Regions from separate parts of the Homo sapiens genome. Here all the other regions are linked to region 1. Evidence: promoter capture Hi-C in human tissues and cell types (Jung and others, 2019). All regions are on one chromosome and are shown on one strand. The core of a region is centred on a gene start or on the middle of the fragment in contact, and the rest is flanking DNA. Distances in the headings are between cores, read along the strand shown. Region 1 holds the start of ZNF418 (zinc finger protein 418). Region 2 overlaps ZNF544 (zinc finger protein 544). Region 3 holds the start of ZNF211 (zinc finger protein 211). Region 4 holds the start of ZNF544 (zinc finger protein 544). Region 5 has its middle 12 kb from the start of ZSCAN4. Region 6 overlaps ZSCAN4 (zinc finger and SCAN domain containing 4).

What was found. Contacts are between HindIII fragments. The study calls those that stand out against the background at their distance.
Region 2: a fragment that was not itself captured here is called in contact with the fragment with the promoter of ZNF418 in region 1 in 2 of the 25 tissues and cell types used here (pancreas and spleen).
Region 3: the fragment with the promoter of ZNF211 here is called in contact with the fragment with the promoter of ZNF418 in region 1 in 3 of the 25 tissues and cell types used here (adrenal gland, liver and mesenchymal stem cells).
Region 4: the fragment with the promoter of ZNF544 here is called in contact with the fragment with the promoter of ZNF418 in region 1 in 1 of the 25 tissues and cell types used here (adrenal gland).
Region 5: a fragment that was not itself captured here is called in contact with the fragment with the promoter of ZNF418 in region 1 in 3 of the 25 tissues and cell types used here (adrenal gland, lymphoblastoid cells and stomach).
Region 6: a fragment that was not itself captured here is called in contact with the fragment with the promoter of ZNF418 in region 1 in 2 of the 25 tissues and cell types used here (IMR-90 fibroblasts and stomach).

Annotation. Positions count from the first base shown.
Region 1 is chr19:57,933,410-57,937,880 of GRCh38, forward strand. ZNF418 (zinc finger protein 418) reads right to left here and starts at 1,993. Exons shown (of 6, transcript NM_133460.3): 1 at 1,752-1,993; 2 at 408-493. The coding sequence starts at 413. RefSeq lists enhancers at 1,396-2,278, 1,871-1,960. The HindIII fragment of the contact is 9,006 bases long and covers 1-4,471 here.
Region 2 is chr19:58,247,323-58,251,793 of GRCh38, forward strand. All of the region lies in intron 6 of ZNF544 (zinc finger protein 544), which reads left to right. Among named protein-coding and RNA genes, the nearest start is that of ZNF544, 21 kb to the left of the region's middle. The HindIII fragment of the contact is 5,984 bases long and covers 1-4,471 here.
Region 3 is chr19:57,631,177-57,635,647 of GRCh38, forward strand. It overlaps ZNF211 (zinc finger protein 211), which reads left to right and starts at 1,992. Exons shown (of 4, transcript NM_006385.5): 1 at 1,992-2,260; 2 at 2,847-2,885; 3 at 3,453-3,579. The coding sequence starts at 2,171. RefSeq lists enhancers at 1,592-1,681, 1,752-1,801 and a silencer at 2,242-2,311. The HindIII fragment of the contact is 12,794 bases long and covers 1-2,999 here.
Region 4 is chr19:58,227,023-58,231,493 of GRCh38, forward strand. It overlaps ZNF544 (zinc finger protein 544), which reads left to right and starts at 1,892. Exons shown (of 7, transcript NM_014480.4): 1 at 1,892-1,924; 2 at 2,446-2,548; 3 at 3,372-3,440. RefSeq lists an enhancer at 1,768-2,594. The HindIII fragment of the contact is 3,442 bases long and covers 223-3,664 here.
Region 5 is chr19:57,654,514-57,658,984 of GRCh38, forward strand. It overlaps a transcript of ZSCAN4 not described here. Among named protein-coding and RNA genes, the nearest start is that of ZSCAN4, 12 kb to the right of the region's middle. The HindIII fragment of the contact is 8,692 bases long and covers 1-4,471 here.
Region 6 is chr19:57,674,319-57,678,789 of GRCh38, forward strand. ZSCAN4 (zinc finger and SCAN domain containing 4) reads left to right here. Exons shown (of 5, transcript NM_152677.4): 3 at 1,723-2,223; 4 at 3,596-3,761; 5 at 3,848-4,471. The coding sequence starts at 1,828. Among named protein-coding and RNA genes, the nearest start is that of ZNF551, 5.4 kb to the right of the region's middle. The HindIII fragment of the contact is 5,379 bases long and covers 1-4,471 here.

The DNA.
Region 1 (4,471 bases), core at 743-3,242:
CTACTAAAAATATTAAAAATTAGCCGGGCATGGCCGGGCTTGGTGGCTCATGCCTGTAATCCCAGCACTTTGGGAGGCCGAGGCCGATGGATCACGAGGTCAGGAGATTGAGACTATCCTGGCTAACACAGTGAAACCGTCTCTACTAAAAAATCCAAAAAATTAGCTGAGCATGGTGACGGGCGCCTGTAGTCCCAGCTACTCGGGAGGTTGAGGCAGGAGAATGGCGTGAACCCGGGAGGCAGAGCTTGCAATGAGCCAAGATCGTGCCACTGCACTCCAGCCTGGGCGATAGAGCGAGACTCCCGCTCAAAAAAAAAAGGAAAATCTAGTTGCCATTTTACAAACTGTGAATCTTGAATCCAGCCACAGCTCCTTACTCATTAATATGGTCCAGTAACCCTCACCTGCATTATGGCAGGAGTTTAAACTCTGATCCTCCTTCCTCCTCCCTCAAACACAGTGTGTTCTCTTCTTTGCAGCCAGATGATGCCTGCAGACAAATGGGACTGTGGTAACATCACCTCCTCGCCGCCCTCTTGCCTCCCCACCGAATTTTTACCTCTAAGCATTTCATGACCTGGTACCAACTCTGTAGTTAACCTTCAAAGTATGTTTACATGGGTTGACAGAAATGGGAATACCTCCATACATCCTGTGTCATGGACTTAGGATTCTGGGTTTAGGGTTTCTCCAGTGTTCTCAGATCAAAGGACTGAAAAAATGGCAAGTAAGAGTCCCAGGACATCACAAGCTAGAGAACATGTGAATGGGGAATAAGGCCAGTGAGGGAATGGAACACCCTCTAATTCCCTCTGTGGGTTCCTTTTTTTGAGCCAGAGTTTCGCTCTTGTTGCCCAGGCCGGAGTGCAATGGCTCACCGCAACCTCTGCCTCCCGAGTTCAAGCAATTCTCCTGCCTTAGCCTCTGAGTAGCTGGGATTACAGTCATGCGGCATCACCACGCCTGGCTAATTTTGTATTTTTGTTAGAGACGGGGTTTCTCCATGTTGGTCAGGCTGGTCTCGAACTCCCGACCTCAGGTGATCCGCCCGCCTCGGCCTCCCAAAGTGCTGGGATTACAGGTGGGAGCCACCTTGCCCGACCCCCTCAGTGGGTTCTTTACGTGCTTTTGTAGCCAGGAGTGTCTGAGGGGAAAGCAGACGTTACAAAGGGGATCTGATAAGCTCAGGTCTCCTTGAACCTTTTCTTATCGCTGGAGCCAGGTGACCTCAGACTGGTTGACCTGCGTGTCTCAGTGCAAAATGTCATCTCTACCACCTATGTGATCTATCAACAAAGGAGTCAACCTCCCAGAACCCTAAGGTCCTCATCTCCTCTACTATGTTCTTCCTTTGGCCTTTGGGAAACCTTAAAAGCCTGGACTTGGATCGCATCCCTCCTTTCTTCGAAACTCTCCATGGCTTCTAGCGTCTTCACAGCGAATACACAGCCCCCAGCCTGCTCTTCCAGGAGAAGCTTCGCCTCACACGTTGTTCCCTACAGGCGCCTGTGGACCCCAGGTTCCATCCTCCCGGGTCTGTCCTCCAGGCCATAGCCCGCGCCGGTCCCTGTGCCTGTCGCTCTCCCCACCGCATCCCACAGGTGTCAGAAACAAGGACCTCTCCCGCGAACGCCTCAGTGTCCCGACGCCGGGTCCGGGCTGCAGACCTGTGAACAGTCGCCGCTCTCTCGCTGCTTCAGGATTCGGGTTAGGATGAGGTGACCTGAGGGCAGGGAAGGCACAATTACCTGAGCCGGGAGCCTCAGCGCGGCCGCCGCCATCCCGAGTACGCGGGGAAAGCACTGCCGGGAGCGGCGGGCGCCGTTACGGGGCCTAAGATCTGCCTCTGTGCAGCAAGAAGGACTCTTCACCTTCTGGGTTCAGACACCGCGGTTCGGACCCATAGCTCCAGCGCCTCTCACCTCACAAACCGCAGAAACACACCCAACATTAACCAAAATGGTCGCTACCAGAGAACGCTGAGAATCCCGCCACTACGTTACGTGCGCACACAGAAACGCCTTTATTCTGAGCCCTTACTGGTTCTGTTGCGCTGTCATTCAATGTAGAGCTTTCTGGGTAATGTAGTTCCCCAGGTTCCAAGGTAGTAAAGCTGCCGCTTCCCAAAGGCGCTTCTGCAGGGAAGTCCCAGCCCTACCTCAGGGGGTTCATTAAAGCGCGTACCCTTTTAGGGCAGAGGATGGTCTCGCCCCTCCTTAGAGGCCATATTGAGATTCCTGGGGAATCCCTGTTTGTAACTGACCACCTAAGTGTTTGCAAAAATATTAATTCACATTTCTGTAAATTCAAGCTCCCAGGCGCTAAAAATACTGTGAAGGCCCCCAAAGGCTACAAATCCAAATTCGTGTATCACTTTATACAATCGTTTAGACACAGAATGCTTGCACTGGAAGCAGAGGCTGATAAACATTACTCTGTTATAATTCACATGAATGCACTCTTGTTACCGGATAGAATGTCTTGGCTGTGAGTTGTCCAGTTGTTGGCGCATTGAACAAAGAAGTGAACAAAACACACAAAAAAAGCAACGAAAGAACGGACCAATGAAAGCGCAGATTTATTGAGGGGAAAGTACACTCCACAGAAGTGGAATGTAGGTGTGGGAGCAGGCGACCAAGCGGCTCAAGAACCCCGATTACAATGTTTTTTAGGGTTTTATTAGGTTGGTGCAAAAGTAATTGCGGTTTTTGCCATGAATAAGCTAGAATTTTATAATACCCCAAGAGTTCTTTAAAGGCCTCCAATCCTATGAAGGACTGGTGCACAACCAATCAGAGGCTGAAGTGGAGACTTCTGTCTTGTTACCACAGGAGTGAGGACGTGGCCTGTGTGCTGCCTCATCTTGCCTAGAACTAGCTGCACCTGCTGTTCTTTTGCTTATGCCTTCATTCTTGGTTACCCTAATTCCCTATTCTCCTGCCTCACTCTGAGGCATTAGAGTTGGTTTTTCAGTCTGCCAGGGACAAAAGAGAACTAATCCAGATAGGACCATGCCAAGGAAGATAGAGGAGAGGCTAAAGAAAGAGTACAAAGGTCAATCAGTCGTTCCCATGGAAAAACAACTCTCCTGCTTATATAGTCAATTATTGTGTCCAATTCATTCAGCAAAACATTTATTCATGTAATATCCCTTACTTGGTATTCTAACTTATATTTTCAACTCATTTTAGGAACTTGAAGTCAGTCTCAGGTAAAGAACAATGAAAGAGAAATCTCAGCTTGGTATTGGTAATGGTGGTGATAATCTCCACCTGGAGACACTAGGCGTATGTTAAATTATCGAGCTTGTTATCTTTCCTGGGAAGTGATTATCATTTGTTTCTCTTGTGACAGCGGGGAGTGTTCTGCATGAGGAACTAATATGATACCAGAAAAACAGGTGAAATGCCAGTTACAGAAACTTATTACCAACGACTATCTAATAACTGCGATGACAGAAATAGGTCAATTGAAACATGAGTGGATGGTGAAAAAAATTTACACTTCACAGAAGTTTTTCTTTCTTTTTTTTTTTTTTTTTTTTTGAGACAAAGTCTCGTTCTGTCCCAGACTGGAGTGCAGTGGCGCCATCTTGGCTCACTGCAACCTCCACCTCCCGGGTTCAAGCGATTCTCCTGCCTCAGTCTCCCAAGTAGCTGGGATAACAGATGCCTGCCACCACGCCCAGCTAATTTTTGTATTTTTAGTAGAGACAAGGTTTCACCATGTTGGCCAGACTGGTCTCAAACTCTTGACCTCTGACCTGCCTGCCTCCTTCTCCCACAATGCTGACATTACAGGCATAAGTCACTGCTCCCAGCTGACTTTACAGGTGTTTGTTTGTTTGTTTGTTTGTTTTGAGAAGGAGTTTCACTCTTGTTGTCCAGGCTGGAGTACAATGGCACAGTTTCAGCTCACTGCAACCTCCTCCTCCTGGGTCAAGCAATTCATTCTCCTGCCTCAGCCTCCCAAGTAGCTGGGATTACAGGTGCCTGCCACCACACTCAGCTAATTTTTGTATTTTCAGTAGACACAAGGTTTCACCATTTTGGCCAGGCTGGCCGCAAACTCCTCACCTCAGGTGATCCACCCGAGGTGGCCTCCCAAAGTGCTGGGACTACAGGTGTGAGCCACCTCGCCCGGCCCAGAAGTTTTAACAGTGATGTCTACGAAGAGATGGAATTAAGGTCAGCATGTGATTAAAAATGTCCCCCTTGTTGGTTTTGTCATTGAGATTTTTTTTTCTTTATTAAAAACATTGAACAATACCAAGGTGGAGAAAAATTGTGCCTGTTCACCTACCTACTTGGGAGGCTTAGAGGGAGGATCACTTCTGCAAAGGAGTTTGAGGCCAGCCTGGGCAGCAGAGCAAGACTCTGTCTCCAAATAAATAATTTAATGAATAAGTAAAAACAGAAGGTGAAATCTGCAGTATAGTATTATCCTCATAGAATTGTGTCTCCCTTTC
Region 2 (4,471 bases), core at 1,160-3,659, 310 kb after region 1:
ACAATCTCGGCTCACCACAACCTCCACCTCCCAGGTTCAAGTGATTCTCCTGCCTCAGCCTCCCAAGTAGCTGGGATTACAGGCATGTCCACCATGCCCGGCTAATTTTTTGTATTTTTAGTGGAGACAGAGTTTCACCGTGTTAGCCAGGATGGTCTTGATCTCCTGACCTCATGATCCGCCCGCCTCAGCCTCCCAAAGTGCTGAGATTACAGGTGTGAGCCATCACGCCTGGCCCTAATTTTGTATTTTTATTAGAGGTGGGGTTTCTCCATGTTGGTCAGGCTGGTCTCGAACTCCCGACCTCAGGTGATCCACCTGCCTCAGCCTCCCAAAGTGCCGGGATTACAGGTATGAGCCACTGCACCTGGCCATTAATTTTTGTATTTTTAATGGAGATAGGGTTTCATCATGTTGCCCAGGCTAATAGACTTTATTTTTTAGAGCAGTTTTAGGTTTATAGGTAAGTTGACGAGAAAGTGCAGAGTTCCCACCCATGTCTGCTGTCCTACAGACACATGCAGTGTCTCCTGCTGTTAACAACTTGGATTTGTATTGTACATCTGTTACAATCGGCAAACCTATCTTGAGGCATCCTTTTTTTTTTTCCCAGACAGAGTCTCACTCTGTCACCAGGCTGGCGTACAGTGGTGTGATCTCAGCTCACTGCAACCTCCGCCCCCCAGGTTCAAGTGATTTTCCTGCCTCAACCTCCCAACTAACTGGGACTACAGGCACGCACCACCACGCCCAGCTAATTTTTGTATTTTTAGTAGAGTCAGAGTTTCACCATGTTGGCCAGGATGGTCTCGATCTCCTGACCTCATGATGCGCCCCCCTCAGCCTCCCAAAGTGCTGGGATTACAGGCGTGAGCCACTACCCCTTGCCCTTGAGGCATCATTATCACCCAAAGTCCATAGTTTATGATAGGGTTCATGCTTTTTTTTTTCTTTTTTTTTTTTTTTTTTTGAGACAGTGATGCAGTCATAGCTTAAGCCTTCTGGGCTTAAGTGATCCTCCCACCTCTCTGCACCCCAGCCTCAGGTGCCACAGCATGCACCACCATGCCTGGCTAATGTAAAAATTTTTTGTAGAGATGGAGTGTCACTGTGTTGCCCAGGCTTGTCTTGAACTCCTGGGCTCAAGTGATCCTCCCACCTCAGCCTCCCAAAGTGCTGGGATTACATGTATGAGCCACTGCACCTGGCCAGGCTTCACTCCTGATGTTGTATATTCTGTGCATTTGGACAAATGTACAATGTCATGTATCCACCATTATAGTATCAGACAGAGTAGTTCCACTACCCTAAATATTCTCTGTGCTCTACCCATTCATCCCTCCCTCATCCCCAGCCCCTGGTGTTACTGGTGGAGGATGTGCAGGTTCTTGGCATTTTGAACAAAGAATTGGACAAAATGCATAAAACAATGAAAGAATGAAGCAAAAAAAGCATAGATTTATCAAAATGAAAGTACACTCCACACAATGGGAGTGGTCTGGAGCAAGCAGCTCAAGAGCACTGGTTACAGAATTTTCTGGGGTTTAAATCCCGAGAGGTTTCCCATTGGTTACTTGGTTTATATCCTCTGTAAATGAAGTAGTGGCCCATAACTAGTCTGATTGGTTGGGGAAGGTGACCAACAGAGGCTGAAGTGAAGTTACAAAGTTACACCTCTATGCAGATGAAAACTAGGCCAGTGACCAGTCTCATTGGTTGCAGGAAGAGGTACTTTCCATTTTTCATCTGCGACACAGAAGGCGGGGGTTGCCTCTGATCCTTTTGTTATTTGGGGCATGGAAAGTTTGGGTTTTCCTTTTGATTCAGTTCCAGGAAGTCAGCATTAATCACCCTTAGGTTTCTTGCCTCCATACCCTGTTCTCATACCTCATTTCCCCCCGAAAGACATGATCCTCATAAATCTTTATGGGAGGTAAAGGGATTGATAGTCTTTCTTCTGTAACTGCTTTATGCTGACCTGAGGCACAGTCCCTACGTACTGGGGAATCACAGGACTCTCTCCCCGCCCTGTCTAGTGGAGACAGGATAGCTTCTTGATGGCCAGGGGTGGTGTCTCCACCTGGAACTGGCTGGAAACATTGTCACATGATCATCTGAAGCTTGATGGTCTCTAGGTGACAGGAAATGAATTTGGTTAAGAGTTTAACAAACATGGTCCAAAAACCAAGGCAAGTATAGTCATTACTAATGGGCTGGCCAGAGGAAGGAGCCATGAACCCCAACTTAGCATTTTTGACCAGGAGCCCCATGACTCAGATAGCTGTTGTTGTATTTTAGAGGCCCAGTTGGGTAGTTTTTGGGTGGCATTTGTTACTAATCCTCATTGTTCGGCATAAAAACAGCATTCTTCCTCTAGAAAAAGACCTAAGCCCCCCTTTACAGCAGTTAGGAGATCTCATCCCCTTCTGTTTTGCCAAGCAACTGCTGCTGAGGCATCTATTTGATTTCGTATGGTGATGATACTTTGGCCAATGTCTCTATTTTTTCTTTTTTACTTTGGGCAATGTCATTCAAGCTTTCCATAAAATCCTTGGAAAAGCATTGGTAATAGGATAGGGATGTTACAACCCGGCTGACTCCCATTCCCAGTCCCGCGGTTATTTGTAGTCCTACCAAAAGGGATGTGAGTTGGATGGTTCATTTGTGTCTGGCAATTGCAGTTAAAGGTATAATGAGGGATTGGTTCTTGGGAGCTATATTAATTTCACAGGCTAAATAAACAAGTGTAAAGGTTCTAGTCCAATTGGCTGGTAAACATAAGTAAGAACTAGTTCCACACAGGTAAAAGGCTCCTAGTTTTTCAAGACAAGAATTTTCTATGGTAAACATGTGGGTTAGCTTGTTGTTTTCACTTTCCCAAGTGGTTAAGGTCCCTATGAAGGTGGCCCCAGTTAAAGGCTGGAAAGGACCTTGGGAAATATTCTGAGTTGCCCCAGCAGTTCTGTTTTCCCATTGGAGGTAATTAGGCTTAGTGTCTACCAACAAGCATCCAGAGGTGTTTCGTACTGGGGAACCAAAAGATAACTAGATGTCTGAGGATTAGTGCAGTCTTCCCAAGGGAAAATATGATCATAGCTAGTGGGCTTACCTTGGCAGTACTTAGACTGTGTATCCTTTGAAGTGTCCTTATCTAGGGATGGTTTCCATGAAAACCATACAGGTTTTCTAAATGACACAGTCTGGGTAACTGCCTAGCTTATGTAATCATGTGAGGGGTTAATAATCTCTAGGGTGTAGTTACACTGATGACTTTTCAAGGTTCCCAGGGCCTGACCAAAATTTTGGCTTCTCTTAATACAAAGTGGCACCTGGAATTTTAGCTCTGTGTACATTGATATTGGGCCCCAAATGGGTTTCTGTGGGATGCAACCCCAGAAAGGGTACTCTGATAGTACTGGAGAAGGTTTACTGCTTGTCCTGTCATCGTAGTTCATGTTTTTTTCCCCAAGGCCAAAGATTGGGCTGGGATTGGGGTGGTAGTGTATTTGAATGATGCTGGAGATAACCAAAGCCAACAGTCTTTGCCAGAGCTGGGCTGGTGGTATTTAACTGTCTTTGAGTTAAATGTAAAGTTTTTAATAAATACCCAGAATCCATTAACTGCTGGAGGGGTAAAGTGAAGCTCTGTTGTAAAATAAAGCTGATTCCCATTATGCGTGGTCCTGTATACACAGGCTGTGGGTGACCATTATGGAACCAAAAAATACTTATTTGTTATTTTGTGCTATAGAATAGGAACTTCAGGGGTGGATACCTATGCTGTCAGGAATGCTTGTTATAAGAATTAATTAAAACACTTTGCTTAATTATTACAAAGGAAGTTATTCCATTTGTTTAGAAGAAAGCAATTAAATTGTAGAAGTATAACAATGGCTACTATTATCCAGTTTAAAGTAACTAAGCAACAAAGACACCAAGGAAAGTTGGTAGGCTTTTACTTATCTTTTGGCTGTCTTTTAAACAGGTACTTCAGGTCTTTCACAAGTCACAGGTGTAGTGGCTGATGGGAGCTTCAGGTTCCCGGTCTGGGACTTCACATAACACAGGCTTGACACCAGAAAGATGTATCCAACTATCTAATCCTAGTACTTTGACCCCAGAAGGCATGGCCAGTACTGAAAATGGTCCCTTCCACTTTGATTGTAATTATTGAGCAGGTGATCCCTCCTTCTATGTTTTAACAGGTACCTTGTCTGTTGGCCTGATTTTGGGTTGGTGGTTAGTTCCTGGTGTGGGGAGCTTTTGAGTTCCAAACTCTTGTAAAGCCTGCTGAAATAATCCCAGGTTAACTAGGTATTTTACTAAACTGGATGTTTCTGGATCAGAGATTAGATCATTAGTTAAAAATGGCCTTTTGTATAACATTTGTGTGGGCTCATAATAATTTTTTCTCTAGGGGAATTATGGATTCTTAAGAGGGCTATGGGCAGTAAGCAGATCCAAGTTTCTG
Region 3 (4,471 bases), core at 742-3,241, 300 kb before region 1:
CCTGGAAAGATCCCTGCATGTGAATGCACACACAGCTTTCAGGGATCTGAGGAAATTCAGCATGTGTAGGATATAGAGGAGATACATGGTAGGAGGTGAAGCAATATGTAATGGTTGGTTCTGTAATATAGGCCCAGCCAAGAACTCTAACCTTTTTCCTAAAAACAATGACAAGCCCATTGTGAGATCTAACCAGATGTACAATAGTAGTCATTCCACTTATAAATTTTTGTAGTAAATGTGTAAACAAATACATTATATATTTGATAAAATCATTTCACAACTTTTAATTTTATTTTATTTTACTGGTATTAATTTGTCCTAAAGGATCATTTTTATTGTGAAACGTAAAATTTGATCTATCTAATATATATAAAATGTATATGTGTACATTTAACAATGTGCATATATGTACCTTAAAATAATATAAACTTTCTGGGCGACGGAGTGAGGCCCTGTTTAAAATAATGATAATAATTTGATATTTTATGCATTAAAAACTTTTGTCTGGGCATGGTGACTCATGCTTGTAATCTCAGCAGTTTGGGAGGCTGAGGCAAGAAGATTGCATGGCCCTAGGAGTTTGAGACTAGCCTGGGCCCTATAGGGAGACTCCATTCCTACAATAATTTTTTTTTTAACTAGCCGGGTGTGGTGGTGTGCTTGTAGTGCCAGCTACTCAAGAGGCTGAGGTGGGAGGATCACTTGAGCCCAGGAAGTGGAGGCTGCAATGAGCTATGATTGTTCCACTGTACTCCAGCCTGGACAACAGAGTGAGACCCTGTCTCAAAAAAAAATTAAATGTTTTGATTATACAAGGAAAATGAACATTCATGTATTAAAGCTTCATGTTTTATGAACAAAACTGACTTTGCAGGCAGGAGAGCGTTTTCTGGGGGCACCAGAAGCAGGGAACTTCCCTTGTCCGTTGGCTTCAGGGCTGCCCACTATCCCTCCACTATCTTCCCATTGTAGCCCTGTCTGGTGTCTTTTGTCCCTGACAAAACCTACAAAAAGTGACTTTAACACTTCAGGCTGCATGCATTTGAAGAGCAATAAGATAACGTTTTTTCGCTTCCCACTACCAGTGGAGATCTGCTGGGGTGGGCTGCATGGAATCTGAAATGATGTCTAAATACTGAAGTGAACCTCTACACTAGAGACTGATATACAGCTGACCCTTAAACGACGCAGGGGTCAGGGATACCGACCCCTGCGGAATTGAAAATGCTTGTATTACTTTTGACTCCCCTAGGTCTTAACTACTAATAGCCAACTGTTGCCCGGAAGCCTTATGAAGTTGCCCGGAAGCCTTATGAATTACATAAACTCCCAGTCGATTAACACATTTTGTATGATATATGCATGATATATGCATAATATATATGATATATGCATTTTGTATGATATATGCATTATATATATTTTAGTATAAGAACTATACTTGTACTAAAACAGACCAGAGAAAGGGTATCAGGAAAATTGTAAGAGGCTCGTTGACATTACACCCAATTAAAAAAAGGAAAATAAAAGAATACGGAAGGGAAAATACATTTACTAATCATTAAGTGGAAGTGGATCATCATAAAGGTCTTCATCCTTGTGTTCTTCATGCTGGGCAAGAGAATGAGGTCTTGCTGTCTCTGGGGCAAGAGGTCGGGGAGCTGGAAGAGGCAGGAAAAGGAGCACACTCGAAGTAACGTTTATTGGGGAAAAAAAACGCCTACGTGTAAATGGACCCGCACAGCTCAAACCTGTGTTGTTCAAGTGTCAACCTACTTAAGACCTCAAACACCGAAGCCCCTCAGTCGCCCTGGAAGGCAGCAGACGCAGCTTCCTAGCGCTCCCAGCTGTCTGCACACAAGGCGCCCTCCGTCGCAGCCTGGGGGAGACTACATTACCCAGAAAGCCTTGCGTCGAGCGGCAGTACTTTGATCCAATGAAAATCCAAGACAGGGGCATTTCCGTGTGGGTCTACCCCCGCCCCCCCCAGGGCGGGACTTGTGGCGTCTTCGCAGCGGTCATTTTGGCTGCCCTCCCGGAGGTCCGTTCTGTCTGTCAGCCGCTTTGGTACGCTGCATCGGGATCGAAGTGACGGACCGTGAAGGCGCGAGAGTCAGGTCTGAGGGTCGGGGGCAGAGCCGCCCGCGAGGCCGGCCTGGGGATAGCGATGCTCGGGTTCCCCCCGGGTCGCCCGCAGCTCCCGGTCCAGCTCCGCCCACAGACTCGGATGGCGACCGCACTGAGGGACCCGGCTTCGGTGAGCGCTGCGATCTCCGGGCCTCCCCCGGCCGAGATTCTTAAGTCCCAAGTGAGAGGCACCAGCTCACGTCTCTGTAGCACAGGGTCGGGGACACTGAGGCTCGTGGGTGGGGCCCCTATTTCTGACATCCGATGTGGTGGGCAGGGGGACAAGGGACAGGACCGGCGCGTGCAGGGCTTGGACGGGCAACCGAGAAGGGGGCATTCAGGAACCTGGGCTCCACATTGTTACTGCAGGGAACAAAGTTTGAGAGAGATCTACCTTTATTCTTAGGGCCGTGGGAGCCATAGAGAGCTTGCGCAAACGAGAGACACCATCTGAGTTAAATTTGAAAAATCCTCTGCAGGCTGTTCAGTGGAAGAAAAGACTTTAGAGATGGATGAGGACGTTGAGGCAGAGGGAGGTTGAATATTTTTCCAAGGCCACACAACTGGTGAGAGGCAGCACTAAGGACCGAGGCGCACAGGTTAGACAGTCGACCCAAAGTTACGTGGCTCTGGGCCGGGGCAAGGGTACAGGGAAGGCCTGTGCCCATGGAGCACTGCCATGATCACATTCCTCTGAGGCCTGCGTCTTTCCACAGGTTCCCATAGCTACAGAGGTGCTTTTCAAACTTACACAGGTAAGTGGAGGTATCTCAGCCCCTCACTGGTCTGGAATGTCCCTCCACCCTCCCCAGACAGATATTTTCTTTAGATTTGTGGTGTCATGGGACTCACCTACCATTCTCTCAGCGTTTGGTTTGGGAACCCTGGAGAATCCCTGAGCTAAGGGCCCTGAGTCCAGGCCAATGTTTCCATTTGGAGCAGCCAATGGAAAGATGGGTGAAAATTTATGATAGAAACAGGTAGGTACCAGCTTTTGGAACTCCTTGGAGGTGAGGCTGAGCTGGTTCAGGGAACTGCAGGTTTCCTTTATTTCTGTGAAGTTTGGCATCTATTGTGAGGAAGTTGGAGTTTGGGATCAGAGGAGGGAGATTTATCTAACCCAAGTGTTGACAGGATACAGAGTGGAAAACAGAATGAACACAGTGACTAATGGGAATGTGAAGAGACAGCAGGGATCAATGACACCAAGGTCTGGTGTCTCTTCTGACTTGGGGATCTTGGGAGGAGAATGTATGGGGACATGGATTTTGAGTCTTCCAAATTGAGACTGTTCATGGTTTCATCAATCCCTATTATGCTAGGGAAGTGTGACCTTTGAAGATGTGGCCGTGTACTTCTCCTGGGAGGAATGGGATCTCCTTGATGAGGCTCAGAAACACCTGTACTTCGATGTGATGCTGGAGAACTTTGCACTTACGTCCTCCCTGGGTAAGGCCCTCATACTCACCCTTGTGCCCTGGACTAGGCTCTCTGTTTCTCCTTTTCCTCAGGAGCAGCTCTGTCCTCATATCTGGACTATAGGCACTGCCTCCTTCCCCAGTTCCCTGGGTAGATGTTGTGGACTGAGTGCAAGCCTACTTCCCTTATCGTCCCAGCCCAAAAGCATCTTGGGTAAGGATTTGGGATCAGTAGTCTTACAGTAAGCCTAATAGATCCCACCTGACTTGCCTTCTCCCTGTCTGGTGACTTTCTAGATCTATGGCACCCAGTTTTCCCTCCCTTCGTGTACCTAACATTTATTTGTGCTAGACTGTGACATGAAATGTAGTCACTGACATTGCCACTATTTACACAGACTGTTCTTCAACCACCAACCTTTCCATTAACAGCAGAACACTCTAACAAATTGTGCCGCAGAGACATTACACAGACTGTTCTTATAGAAACCTCCTTCAAGGTGTTTTTCTTTGTTTTTAATTGTAAAATATATATAACAAAATTTACCATTTTAATCATTTTCAAGTATATAGTTCAGCGCATTTAGTACATTCGCATTATTGTGCAACCATCACCACCATCCTTCTATAGTACTTTTTCATCTTATAAAACTGAAACTTTGTACTCATTAAATAATAACTCTTCCCATCCCCTGGCAACCACCATTTTACTTTTGGTCTGTATGAATTTGTCTACTGTAAGTACCTCATATGAGTGGGATCACACAATATTTGTTCTTTTCTATCTGGCTTACTTCACTTAGCATAATATCTTCAAGATTCATCCATGTTGTAATATATATCAGAATTGCTTCTTTTTAAGGCTGAATAATATTCTTTTGTATGTATTACAGTTTGTTTATCCATTCCTTCATCAGTGGACA
Region 4 (4,471 bases), core at 642-3,141, 290 kb after region 1:
GGTCTCGATCTCCTGACTTCGTGATCGGCCTGCCTCAGCCTCCCAAAGTGCTGGGATTACAGGCGTGAGCCACCACTCCTGGCCTGAAATTTTCTATAATAAAAACAAACAAGATCATTTATTATCTCATAATGAAAAGTCCCTGAGGTGAGCATAGGCAATGTTGATTCAGTGGCACAAAGAGGATTCATTCCATCATGGATACTGGTTCTTTCCATTTTTCTGCTGTGCCATTCTCAGCATGTTGCCTTTACCTCCTGGGGTGGCTTCCTCATGGTGCCAGTGTGCTTGTAATTGTCCTACACATCACATACAGACATCACGGTCCAGGGGCAAAAGAAGACACATTGCTATCTTATGTCCACTTTTAAGACTGAGGGAACCGGCCGGGAGCGGTGGCTCATGCCTGTAATGCCAGCACTTTGGGAGGCCGAGGCGGGTGGATCATGAGGTCAGGAGATCGAGACCATCCTGGCTAACAGGGAGAAACACCGTCTCTACTAAAAAAGAAAAATTACAAAAAATTAGCCGGGCGTGGTGGCGGGCGCCTGTAGTCCCAGCTACTCGGGAGGCTGAGGCAGGAGAAAGGCGTGAACCCGGAAGGCGGAGAGTGCCGTGGGCCTAGATCGTACCACTGCACTCCAGCCTGGTGGACAGAGCGAGACTCCGTCTCACAAAAAAAAAAAAAAAAAAAAAAAAAAAAAAAGACTGAGGGAACCTTCCCAGGAAACCCCTAGCAGCCTTATTTCTCCTTGGCCAGAATATCCTTGCCTAATTCACACAGCAAGAAGCTTGAGTCCATTCTGATTAGCTTAGAATCCATCAAGATCCTCCCTTAGGGAGTTAGATTCTAGATTTCCCGGAAGAATCTAAAAATTGCAGGGTCGTGCTAGCCAGGTATGAAAATAAGCAAGTAAAAAGATGATGACTGTTGGGTAAAGCTATCGACAAGGTCAGCTACAAAACAGTCAAGCCAAGGAAGGCTAGTCACAGATGCACCCCAGACACAAAAGCACAGTCCAGGAGCTGAGGGTGCCTGAGCCACAGTGGTTCCCGCCTACCTGGCCTTCGTAGGAAAGTTTCCTGTGGTCTCCCTCATTGAAGAGCCAGGACGGGTCAGGCGGTGGTGGGTCTCAGACATTGAGCCCCACAACGCACTGAGACTGAACATCAGACCATTTATAATAACAGAACTCTGTCCCACAACTTCTGCAGCAATAGGTACAAAACAGAACTTGGTCACTGCCAGCCTCCCTATTTTTTTCCCTGTCCCACTTAGGAGCTACCACAGAAAGCCAAATAGGCTCGACTGAGCGATCACCTAGGACGAATCGCCTCCAGTTAGCGTGCTTCCACCTTCCACTCGGAATGCTCCAAGCAGGGCACTCCCGGGGCTTTGTTTCTATCACTAGGACGCGTCCCCACGCCCAGGCTGTCCCTGAGTCCCTGCCACAGGCGCAGATGTTGGCGGGCGCCCTTGCCCCTGAGCTCCCGGTTAACGGCCTTGGACTGTTCTCATGGCTCAGTCTTGGTCTCTCTCCCCAGCAGGGCAAGGCGCCGGGAAGGCACCCGAGATGACAGCGCCGAGCCCCATAGGCGCTAGTCCCGCCCTGGACGCCGACCGCCGCCTCCACAGTCTCGGCTTCGGTTGCTGGATGAGAACCAGCGTGGCCCGTTTAAGGGGGAGGGGACAGGCGCTGCAAGGAGCAGAGCCGCGGGAAGCAACTCCCTAAGCCACAATGCTAGTCGCGAACACAGGAAAAAGCTCATCCCGCCGCCGCGGGGCCCCATGCTCCCGCCGGCAATGACTATGCCTGTGGGAGCAACGGCTACCGGCGCGCGGCCTTCTGGGAGTTGTTTGTTGCGCGGAGCGCGGGCACGTCCGCCGGCCACCGGAAGCACCGCCATTGGCCGGTGCGTGCAGGTGAGTCTGGCGGCCTCAAGGTTGGCTCGGAGGTTTCACTGTTAGCCGGGTGCGGCCGGAGCGCAGGACCAGGCCAGAGCCGCCCCAAGTGATCTGGGCGTGCCGGAGAAACGAGCAGGGCCTGCGGGGGTCCCTCATGCGGCGAGGCCGAGCAAGGGCAGGGGCCTGATGGGATCGGGATCTCTCCGGCCTCAGGGACGGGGAAGGCCGGTCCAGTCAGGTTTCCCCTGCAGGAGCGCCCGGCTGGGTCTGAGCTTGTCGGGAGGCTCTCCTGCTGCAGAGCTGGGAGGGAACTTATAGTACCTCGCAGGTACGGGCAGGGGTGGAACTGGGTGGGACTGGGTGGGACTGGGTGGGACTGGGTGGGACTGGGTGGGCCCTCCCGACAGAGGGTGCCTGGGTCGAGGGCTGCAGGGGCGGGGGATTCAGGCTGGCGTCTGGAGCTCTGGGGCTGCCGACCCAGCGGGCCTCTCCCGGCTCCTTTTTCCTCCCTCAACTCATCTTCTGCGGCTTATCCACAGGTGGCAGCCAAGAGCCTCCTGGCACAGCGGCACCAGGCAGGTGACGCCTATTGGACCCCAGAGGTCATCCCAGCTCCAGACGTGGACACATTTTCTTCCAATGGTACGTGAAGCTTGAACCTTGCAGAGAACATGTGTATTTTCCAAGTGAACAGAAGATTAAGGCCAGTCCACGCAGGGCAGGGGTAACTGGGGTGTTGGGGGCCTGCACTGGTTAAGCGATGCTGGTGCACCCCATAGAGAGACTACAGAGGTGAACAGGATGGGATGTGTATGTAACGCCTGTAAGTTAGGGATCGGGGTTCCATTTGTGTTGGGTGATATTTGATGGGGACCGTACAAGGCAGTGCTAATGAGGAAGGCATGGGGTTGGATTTCAAGAGTCTAAGGGAGTAGGGAAACATCTGATTGTGGAAATGACTCCGTGTAAGGAGGGATGCCAAAAGACAGGAAGGAGTGGAGGAAGACTGTGTTTCTGTTTCCAGCGTGGAGCCAGGGTAGAAGTCACAGTGCAAGGAAGATGTGGTATGCCTGGTCAGTCTCTGCATGGGAGTTGAGGAGCATGTGGGTGACATGGCTGAATGTGGAGGAGGGAATGGCAGTGGCAGGAAGCCCAGGAGGTTTGGGCTGGACACGTAACCTGGAGCAGATTGGAAACGTCACCCCACAAGCAGGGAAGGAGAAAACTGGAAAAGGAAAGAGAAAGCAACTCCCTCCCCAGCCCTGCAGCCAGAGGGACTTCTGCCAGATCAGCCACCATACAGGTCCAGTATGAGGAACAGATGGGGAATTTTATGTCCAAGTATAATCACTATGAATACATGTGTTGTGCCCCTTTTGCAGGTTAACACAATGTTAAGCTCTGTAAATGCAACTCAATTAATTCTTTTAGCATCCTCACAAGGCAGGTCTTGCTGTTTTTCCAGATGTCTACGGATGAGGAAACTGAGGCCTGGAGAGGTTAAAGAGACCCGTTCAGAGTCCTACAGTGGCAGGTAATGGAGCCAGTACTTTGACAGCAGGTTGCAAAGTGAGTGTTCTCAGCCGTTGCCCTTGGATGCCTCCAGACAAGGAAGGACAGGGTTAGAGAGCAAAGATGGACACAGGCAGTGAGAGATTCCCCAGGGAAGGCCAGGAGCATCAGGACAAGATAGTAACACATAAGATATTGGGCAGACCTCTTGGATGTGGTCTACATTTGTGTTTGTGTGTGTGTTTGGGAGTGAGAGAGCAGAGCAGGATGGGCAAGATGAGGAGGGGGAAACTGAGAGTGTTGGTCACTCTGTTCAGGCCTCACCTGAGAGGAGAAGAGGCAGGGGGTGGGGCACTGGGATATGGATTCATCTTGACCAGGGAGAAGACATCTCAGCTCAGAATTTGAAGGGAGCTACTAATGAGTGCAGGCCTGCAGGAGTTTGTGTGCCAGGAGGTTGAAAGAGTCCAGAGTCATCCCTTGGAGTGAATTAAAAGGCCGATTTGTCTGCACAGAGAGGACAGTGGTGGGAGGGGACTGAAGTAGGGTGTGAGAGCATGAGCTCGCAGCTGTAAGGGGATAGTGACTGAGTGGATACTGGTGTTCCTGAACTCCTATACCACCCAGAACTCAGAAACTAGCAGGGTTGGGCAGAGAGGGCAGTCAAGGGCATAGGCAGATTGCACAGAACAAACAGATCAGAGAGGCCAAGAGGTGGGCCTCAGGCCAAGGATGTTAAGAAAAAGAACAGGGGCATTGGGCTGGGCTGGGGTGGGGTGTACCAGACGGGGAGGCTGGGAGCCTGAGTGGTAGTGTGCTTAGGGCCATGAGCTATGGAGCTCCCACCTTCTCACTCCCCAGCCACGAGGCCTCAGTTAAATTTTACTCAAGTTCTTTCTGCCTTGGTTTCCTCATTTAGAAAGCAGGGTAAATTCTGTTAATTGTCTTTGTGGGGTTACAAGGAAGATCAAATGCATGAATTCAGGCAGAGGACAGGGTACAGTGCCTGGCCTGTAGGAAGTACAGCCTGAGTGGTCAGTGGATTTTGAAAGG
Region 5 (4,471 bases), core at 779-3,278, 280 kb before region 1:
ACTCATTCGTTGGAAATTCCTGCAAGCCCAAATTCTCAAGCCTGTTAAATCTCTCCACAACACCCCTATCCTGGCCATCTGGAAAGCTGATGGGTCCAACTACCTGGATTTTTTATTTATTAACCAGGCAGTGGTGCCCATCCATCTGGTGGCCCCCAATCCCTACACTTTACTTTCCCATATCCCCCCACCTCCACCACTCATTTATCTGTATTGGACTTGAAGGACACCTTTTTTCACCATCCCCTTGGATCCAGCCTCCCAAAGCCTTTTTGCTTTCACCTGGACAGATCCTGATACTCACACATCCGCACAGCTAACATGGACTATATTCCCACAGGGGGGCTGGAATAGCCCCTGCTTATTTGGACAGGCCCTCACCAGGGACCTGGCTAAACTTCCCCTTGCTCCTAGCACCCTCCTCCAATACATCAATAACACCCTTCTCTGTAGCCCCTCCCTTAACCTATCTATCCATCCAACACATCATTCAGCTTCTAAACTTTCTCCATTCTTGGGGATATTAGGTCTCACTCACAAAGGCTCAAGTAACCCAACCCCAGGTTACCTACCTTGGACTTATCCTAATCCCTAATATTCAGGCCATACCAACCCAATGGAAGAAGCTAATCCGGGATATGCCCCTTTCTCATACAAAGAACCTCCTTTCCTTCTTGAGCCTTGTGGGATACTTCTGGCTATGGATTCCCAACTTGCTGACCAAGCTGCTGTACACCACATCACGTGGGCCCATCCTAGAACACCTGGATCCAGTCTGTACCATTGACTCCCAGTTCAAAAAACTGAAAAATGCCCTTTCAATGTCGCCAGCACTGGGACTACCCAACCCCAACAAGCCCTTTACTCTGTATGTTCATTCTAACCAAGGCCTTGTTCTTGGGCTACTCTGTCAAACATTCAGCGGTACCCCACAAGCCATTGTATATCTCTCAAAACAACTGAACTCAGTCATCTAAGGTTGGCCACCCTGTTTAAGGATCTTATGTGTGTCTATGCTGCTGGCCTCAGAAGCTCAAAAACTCACCCTCTATCAATACATTACCATTGCACCTTCTCATAACCTACAGGAACTCATGAGTCATTGCTCCCTTCTTTCCCTCCTGCTATCTTACTTACAACAAACACACACCTCCTACATAAACAACCTTCTAATCACCTACCAAAGATGTAAAGTTCTCAACCCAGCCACCCTCTTCCCTATAAGGACCTTTGACTCTGAACTCTGTCACTCCTGCTTGGACTTTTTAGATTCCCTTTCCTTCCCTTTCCGACACATATCAGAGACCCCCTTACAGGGGACACCTACATGGTTCATTGATGGGAGCTCCTTTAAAGAGCCATGTCTTGCAGCAGGCTACACCATCGTTGCCAAACACAAGCTCCTAGAGTCCAATACTGTCGCATCCCCTACCACCTCCTAACAGGCAGAATTAGTCGACCTAACTAGGGCCCTCACCCTAGCAATAGGAAAAAGGGTCAATATTTACACTAACTGTAAGTATGCATACCACATTCTACACTCCCAAGCCTTAATCTCACAGGAAAGAGCTTTTCTTAGTACCAAAGGGACCTGCATAGTAAATGGCAAACTGATACACAGGTTGCTGGAGGTAGCTAAACTACCATTAGAGGCCACCATTATCCATTGCAATGGACACCAGAGAGCTACAGATGCCATAACCAAGGGAAACATTATGGCAGACTCAGCAGCCTGGCAGGTGGCCCACAACATCCCATCACTGTTGTCCATTTTCCCAGCAGACATCCCTCATACACCCAGGAGGAACAAGTCAAACTAACACTGGGGCTACCCAAAGGGAAGGCTGATGTTATCTTGACACAAACTCATCCTGCCCAAATCTCAAGAACTCTCTATTCCCTCCCACATCCACAACCACTTCCATGCTGGTTATTACCACATACCCCAGTTTTTAAAAACTTACACACACTCCACCACCATGACAACCAACCTTGAATGTTTAACCAGTCTGCCCAGTTTGTGGTCAGACTTCCCCTGAAGGGGCTCTTAAACCACCTCCTTTCTCCACTCATCAGGCATGAGGCCATTTCCCAGAACAGGACTGGCAAGTTGACTTCACCCATATACCCCCTGTAAAAAAAGGAAAGGGCCAACTACAGCCTGGGAAAAATATTTGTGAAACCTCTATCTAATAAATGATGAGTATTCAGAATACGTAAAACATCCCTACAAATAGCATAAACAACACAATTTAAAAATAGGCAAAAGTTCAAGACCAGCCTGGGCAACATGGCAAAACACTGTTTCTACAAAAATTAGCTAATAAGCTGGGCATGGTGGTGTGTGCCTGTGGCCCCAGCTACTTGGGAGGCTGAGATGGAAGGATCACTGATTCCAGGGAGGTCGAAGCTTCAGTGAGCTATGATCAAATCACTGCACTCCAGCCTGGGCAACAGGGTGAGATATCATAGCTGTAATTCCAACGCTTTGGGGGGCTGAGGAAGGCGGATCACTTGAGGACAGGAGTTCAACATCAGCCTGGCCAACATGGTGAAACCTCGTCTCTAGTAAAAATACAAAAATTATCCGGGAGTGTCCAGGAGTGGTGGCAGGCACCTGTAATCCCAGCTACTCAAGAGGCTGAGGCAGGAGAATTGCTTGAACCCGGGAGGCAGAGGTTGCAGTCAGCTGAGATCGCGCCACTGTACTCCAGCCTGGGCAACAAGAGTGAAACTCCGTCTGCCCTCCGTCTGTCTGCAACAGAGCTAGACTCCATGTCAAAAAAAAAAAAAAGGCAAAATATTTGAACACATTTTTCACTAAAGATGATATATGAATGGTATATAAATGCATGAAAATAAGTTCAGAATTATTACTATTTAAGGAACTACAAATGAAAACCACAATGAGATACCACTACATACTCATTTTGATGAGTAACATTAACCGAATGATCACACCTAGCTGTTGAAGGTATGAAATAAACTGGAGCTCTCATACATTGCTGGTGGAAATGCAAAATAAATAAATTTGGAAAACACTGTAGCCGTTATTAAAGTTAGTTGTCCACTTATCATTTGATAAATTAATCTCATTCCTAAGTATAACCTCAAGAGATGGAAACGTGTCCATAGAAATACTTGTATAATCATTCCTCAGTATCCATGGGGGACTGATTCCAGGACCCCCAAGGATACCAAAACCTGAAGATGTTCTAGTCTCTTATATAATATGATGTGGTATTTGCATATAACCTGTGTATATCCTCCCACATAATTTAAATTATAATTTAAATTACTTATAATACCTAATACAATGCAAATGCTGTTTAAATAGTTGCTATACATTGTCACCTAATACAGTGTAAATGCTGTTTAAATAGCTGCTACACAATAGTTGTATTGTTTAGGGAGTAATGACCCAAAAAAGGTCTGTGCATGTTCAGTACAGATGCAATTTTTCTTCCAAATATTCAATTTGCAGTGGGTTGAATCTATAGATGCAGAACCCATGGATATAGAAAGCCAACTGATTTTGCGTGTTATCAACAATTTTCTTCAAAGCTAAAGACTGGAAAACAAAAACAAATGTCTATGCACATCTGAATGGGTAACTGTGTTACATTTATAAATAGAATATTCCTCATAAATGTCAAGGAGGGAAAAAAACATTAATCTGAATCTCAAAAGCACAAGTGAAGGAACCAAACTCAGAGGTCTATACAGAGTAAAATTTCTTTCAGATAAAAATCTAGAAATGGTAAAACTCAAGTGGCAAAATGCAAATGAGTGATCCTCAGATCTGGGCCTAGGAGGAAGGGGCGGACTGCAAAGGGCAGAAGAGTACATAGGGTGAGGAGAACCTTCTCTATCAGGATTGTGGTAGTGGTTACATGCTGTTTATATTTGTCAGCACTCATCAAATTATACACTGGAAATTGGGGATCATCCTATTTGTATTATACTGCACTAAATTTGTTTAAGGAAAATAATAATACACACCAAAAATATTCACGGCTCAAGAAGTAATATACTTCCTGCCGGGTGCAGTGGCTCAGGCCTGTAATCCCAGCACTTTGGGAGGCCGAGGCAGGTAGATCACCTGAGATCAGGAGTTCAAGACTAGCTTGGCCAACATGGCGAAACCCCGTCCCTACTAAAAAGGCAAAAATTAGCTAGGCATGGTGGCACGTGCCTGTAATCCCAGCTACTTGGGAGGCTGAGGCAGGAGAATCACTTGAACCCAGAAGACAGAAGTTGCAGTGTACCAATATCATGCCATTGCACTCCAGCCTGGGCAGCAGAGTGAGACTGTGTCTCAAAAAAAAAAAAAAAAAAAAGAAGTAATATATTCCCAAATTGCTCTCAAAAATACTCTTCCTTAATCTTATAAAGAACATCTGCAAAATCCTAGAGTAAATACAATAACTCATGGTCCATTATTAAAATATTTTCGGGACCAGAAACCAAA
Region 6 (4,471 bases), core at 1,027-3,526, 260 kb before region 1:
TCCCTCCCAACTCCCCCGCTGGAGTCCCCAGCATCTGTTATTTCCATCCTTATGTCCATGTGTACCCACTGTTTAGCTTCTACTTATAAGTGAGAACATGCGGTATTTGGTTTTCTGTTTCTGAGTTAGTTCACTTAAGATAATGGCCTCCAGCTCCAACTATGTTGCTGCAAAGGACTAATTTCATTCTTTTTTATGGCTGCATAATATTCCATGGTATGTATTTCACATTTTCTTTATCCAGTCAACCACTGGTAGACTCTTAGGTTGGTTCCATGACTTTGCTCCTGTGACTAGTGCTGCAATCAAAATATGAGTGCAGGTGTCTTTTTTTATATAATGATTTCTTTCCTTTTGAGTAGATACTGAGCTGGATCAAATGATGGTTCTATTTTTAGTTCTCTGAGAAATCTCCATACTGTTTTCCATAGAGGTTAACTGATTTGCATCCCCACCAAATTTATTGAATACTCTTTGTAAACAAAATCAAGACTCTATAAATATGTTTGAAATATTTTCTTTCCTTATTTCACTGGTTAGGGAGCAATCCAATGTTTCATAGAGATGATAGCTCAAGCAGAAAACTTTTAACAATAAATTTTGTTGTAACTACTTTATAAAATATTTTTCACATCAAGTTTTTTTTTTTTTTTTTTTTAAGAGTCTCACTCTGTCACCCAGGCAGGAGCTCAGTGGCATGATCCTGGCTCATTGCCACGCCCACTTCCCGGGTTCAAGGGATTCTCCTGCCTCCACCACTGAAGTAGCTGGGTTTACAGGCACGTGCCACCATACCCAGCTAAGTTTTGTGTGTGCGTGTGGCTTTTTTTTTTTTTTTTTTTTTTTTGAGACGGAGTCTTGCTCTGTCAGCCAGGCTGGAGTGCAGTGGCGCAATCTTGACTCACTGCAATCTCCACCTCCCGGGCTCAAGCAATTCTCCCATCTCAGCCTCCTGAGTAGCTAGGACTACAGGTGCATGCCATCATGCCTGGCTGATTTTTGTATTTTTAGTAGAGATGGGGTTTCACCATATTGGTCAGGCTGGTCTCGAAATCCTGACCTCAGGTGATCCACCTGCCTCAGCCTCCCAAAGTGTTGGGATTACAGGCATGAGCAACCACACCCGGCAAGTTTTGTATTTTTAGTAGAGATGGTGCCTCACCATGTTGGCCAGGCTAGTCTCGAACTCCTGACCTCAAGTGATCCGCCCTCCTCGGCCTCCCACAGTTCTGGGATTATAGGAGTGAGCCACTGTGCCCAGCCAAGGATATTTCCTAATAGTTCTAGTTTATTAAGTGCCTTTTTCAGGAATAAACATTGGCATTTAAACATTTTAAATGCATTCATTGAGATGATTTTATTATGTTCTTGTATCCATATCCCGTTAACGAAGTAAATTGCATTGATTTTTGAATTTTAACCCAAACTTCCTGCATTTTGGAAATGAACACCATTTGCGATGTATATGTGAGTAGATTTTATTTTCAAATATTTTGTTTTGGATAATTTTAATGTATTTGTAAAATTTTGTTATCAGGAAGTGCTGACCTCAGTAACTAAAGTGGGTAGTGCTTCCTCTTATATGCTCTGGGAGAGTTTATGTTAAGTTATAATTATTTCTTTGAATTCATCCATAGAGCCATGTAGGCCTAACTTTTTGGTTGATTTGTCTTTAATTATGCCAGTGGTGCAATTAATTACTCATCTCTTTTCTATTTCTAGCTTGCAGTTTTAAAGAATCCACCAACTGTTGAAACAAATCCCTAGAGACACAAGGCAAGAGACTGAATCATCAAAGTAAAGTCTCTCTGAGAATTATTGCTAAGAATGGCTTTAGATCTAAGAACCATATTTCAGTGTGAACCATCCGAGAATAATCTTGGATCAGAAAATTCAGCGTTTCAACAAAGCCAAGGACCTGCTGTTCAGAGAGAAGAAGGGATTTCTGAGTTCTCAAGAATGGTGCTCAATTCATTTCAAGACAGCAATAATTCATATGCAAGGCAGGAATTGCAAAGACTTTATAGGATCTTTCACTCATGGCTGCAACCAGAAAAGCACAGCAAGGATGAAATTATTTCTCTATTAGTCCTGGAGCAGTTTATGATTGGTGGCCACTGCAATGACAAAGCCAGTGTGAAAGAGAAATGGAAATCAAGTGGCAAAAACTTGGAGAGATTCATAGAAGACCTGACTGATGACAGCATAAATCCACCTGCCTTAGTGAGTACAGGGTTCTAACTTCTGGGATGAGAGACAAAGGAAAGTAAGGAATAAATCACAGTCAGTTAGAGTTGTCTGGAAGTTAGAGAAGCTATTGGAGGTCCAGTTATTAGTCAGCTCACACTCTCCCACCATTCTCACAAAGAATAATCTTCAATGTCCTAAGTTCTCAAGAAAAAAAGCAAAAAGGTATATATCTGTTTATTCTGTAGGACATATAGGAGCCAAACATATTGATGTTTGATTAACTTAATTTTAGTCTGCATAATGGCAGACTCTGAGAAATTGACTTTTTGGCATGATATCAGCTCACTGCAACCTATGCCTCCCAGGCACAAGTCATTCTCGTGGCTCAGCCTCCAGAGTAGCTGGGATTACAGGCGTGCTCCACCAAGGCCGGCTAATTTTTGTATTTTTAATAGAGACAGCGTTCCACCATGTTGGCCAGGCGGTCTCGAACTCCTGGCCTCAAGTGATCCGCCTGCCTTGGCCTCCCAAAGTGCTAGGATTACAGGTGTGAGACCAGCCTGAAATTGACATTTAAATGAAGACATCAAGGTTGAGGAAGAAATGTCTTGACAAGAGCTTGTTCTTCTGTCAGGGAACTCTAATCAAGAAAGACATTCTAAAGAAGCAATTACGGTAGATCCTTATTCTCAGAGCCCATATTTGCAAAATTGCTAAAATTTATTTGTAAGCTTAAAATAAATACCTGAGGCATCTTCTCCGTCATTTTCAGATATGTGCAGGTGGTAAAATATTTGATTTACCTTAGGTGCATGTTTCCAGGTGAGGTTGAACAAGGCCACAACCTCACTTCCTATTTTGGTTCCTACAGTGTAAATAAGTGTCCTTTTCACAGTCTATTTAGTGGCACATTTTTTTTTTTGCTTTTTATTGATAACTTTGTTGTTTAAAGTGACACTGAAGTAAAATGCTGAAACACTGTCTAGTCTTCCTAAGTGCAGGAAAGTTGCTATGTATTATGGAGATAATACATGTGTTGGATCCTCTGAGTTCAGGATTAATCAATAATATATATTAAATGGGGTGTCTTTGAACATATACACACATAAAACAAACTCATGTATTGATCAGTTGACAAAAATAATGTAGCCAGAAGCTCACAGGAAACTAACCCTGAATTTTTCCTAGGGGAAATGATTCAGTACTTGTAAATTCAATGTCCATGTGACTTTATTAAACATAAGAGCTTGTAGTAACAAGAATAACACCATCAGAGATGGTGGACAAAATATGTGATAGCCAATACTTGAGGGAGCTTGTGAGAGCCTGTTAAGGACCACTTTTCCAAAAAGTCTTCTGTTACACAACAGATTCAGATACAACAGTGATCTGGCTTTCTTTACAGGTCCACGTCCACATGCAGGGACAGGAAGCTCTCTTTTCTGAGGATATGCCCTTAAGAGATGTCATTGTTCATCTCACAAAACAAGTGAATGCCCAAACCACAAGAGAAGCAAACATGGGGACACCCTCCCAGACTTCCCAAGATACTTCCTTAGAAACAGGACAAGGTAAGTCAGGTGAATCTGCACAACTGAGGAGTGTTCTATGTGGACCCCTTCTTAAGTACAACTTCATTGAGTGTCTATTTTCACAGGATATGAAGATGAACAAGATGGCTGGAACAGTTCTTCGAAAACTACTCGAGTAAATGAAAATATTACTAATCAAGGCAATCAAATAGTTTCCCTAATCATCATCCAGGAAGAGAACGGTCCTAGGCCTGAAGAGGGAGGTGTTTCTTCTGACAACCCATACAACTCAAAAAGAGCAGAGCTAGTCACTGCTAGATCTCAGGAAGGGTCCATAAATGGAATCACTTTCCAAGGTGTCCCTATGGTGATGGGAGCAGGGTGTATCTCTCAACCAGAGCAGTCCTCCCCTGAGTCTGCCCTTACCCACCAGAGCAATGAGGGAAATTCCACATGTGAGGTACATCAGAAAGGATCCCATGGAGTCCAAAAATCATACAAATGTGAAGAATGCCCCAAGGTCTTTAAGTATCTCTGTCACTTATTAGCTCACCAGAGAAGACACAGGAATGAGAGGCCATTTGTTTGTCCCGAGTGTCAAAAAGGCTTCTTCCAGATATCAGACCTACGGGTGCATCAGATAATTCACACAGGAAAGAAGCCTTTCACATGCAGCATGTGTAAAAAGTCCTTCAGCCACAAAACCAACCTGCGGTCTCATGAGAGAATCCACACAGGAGAAAAGCCTT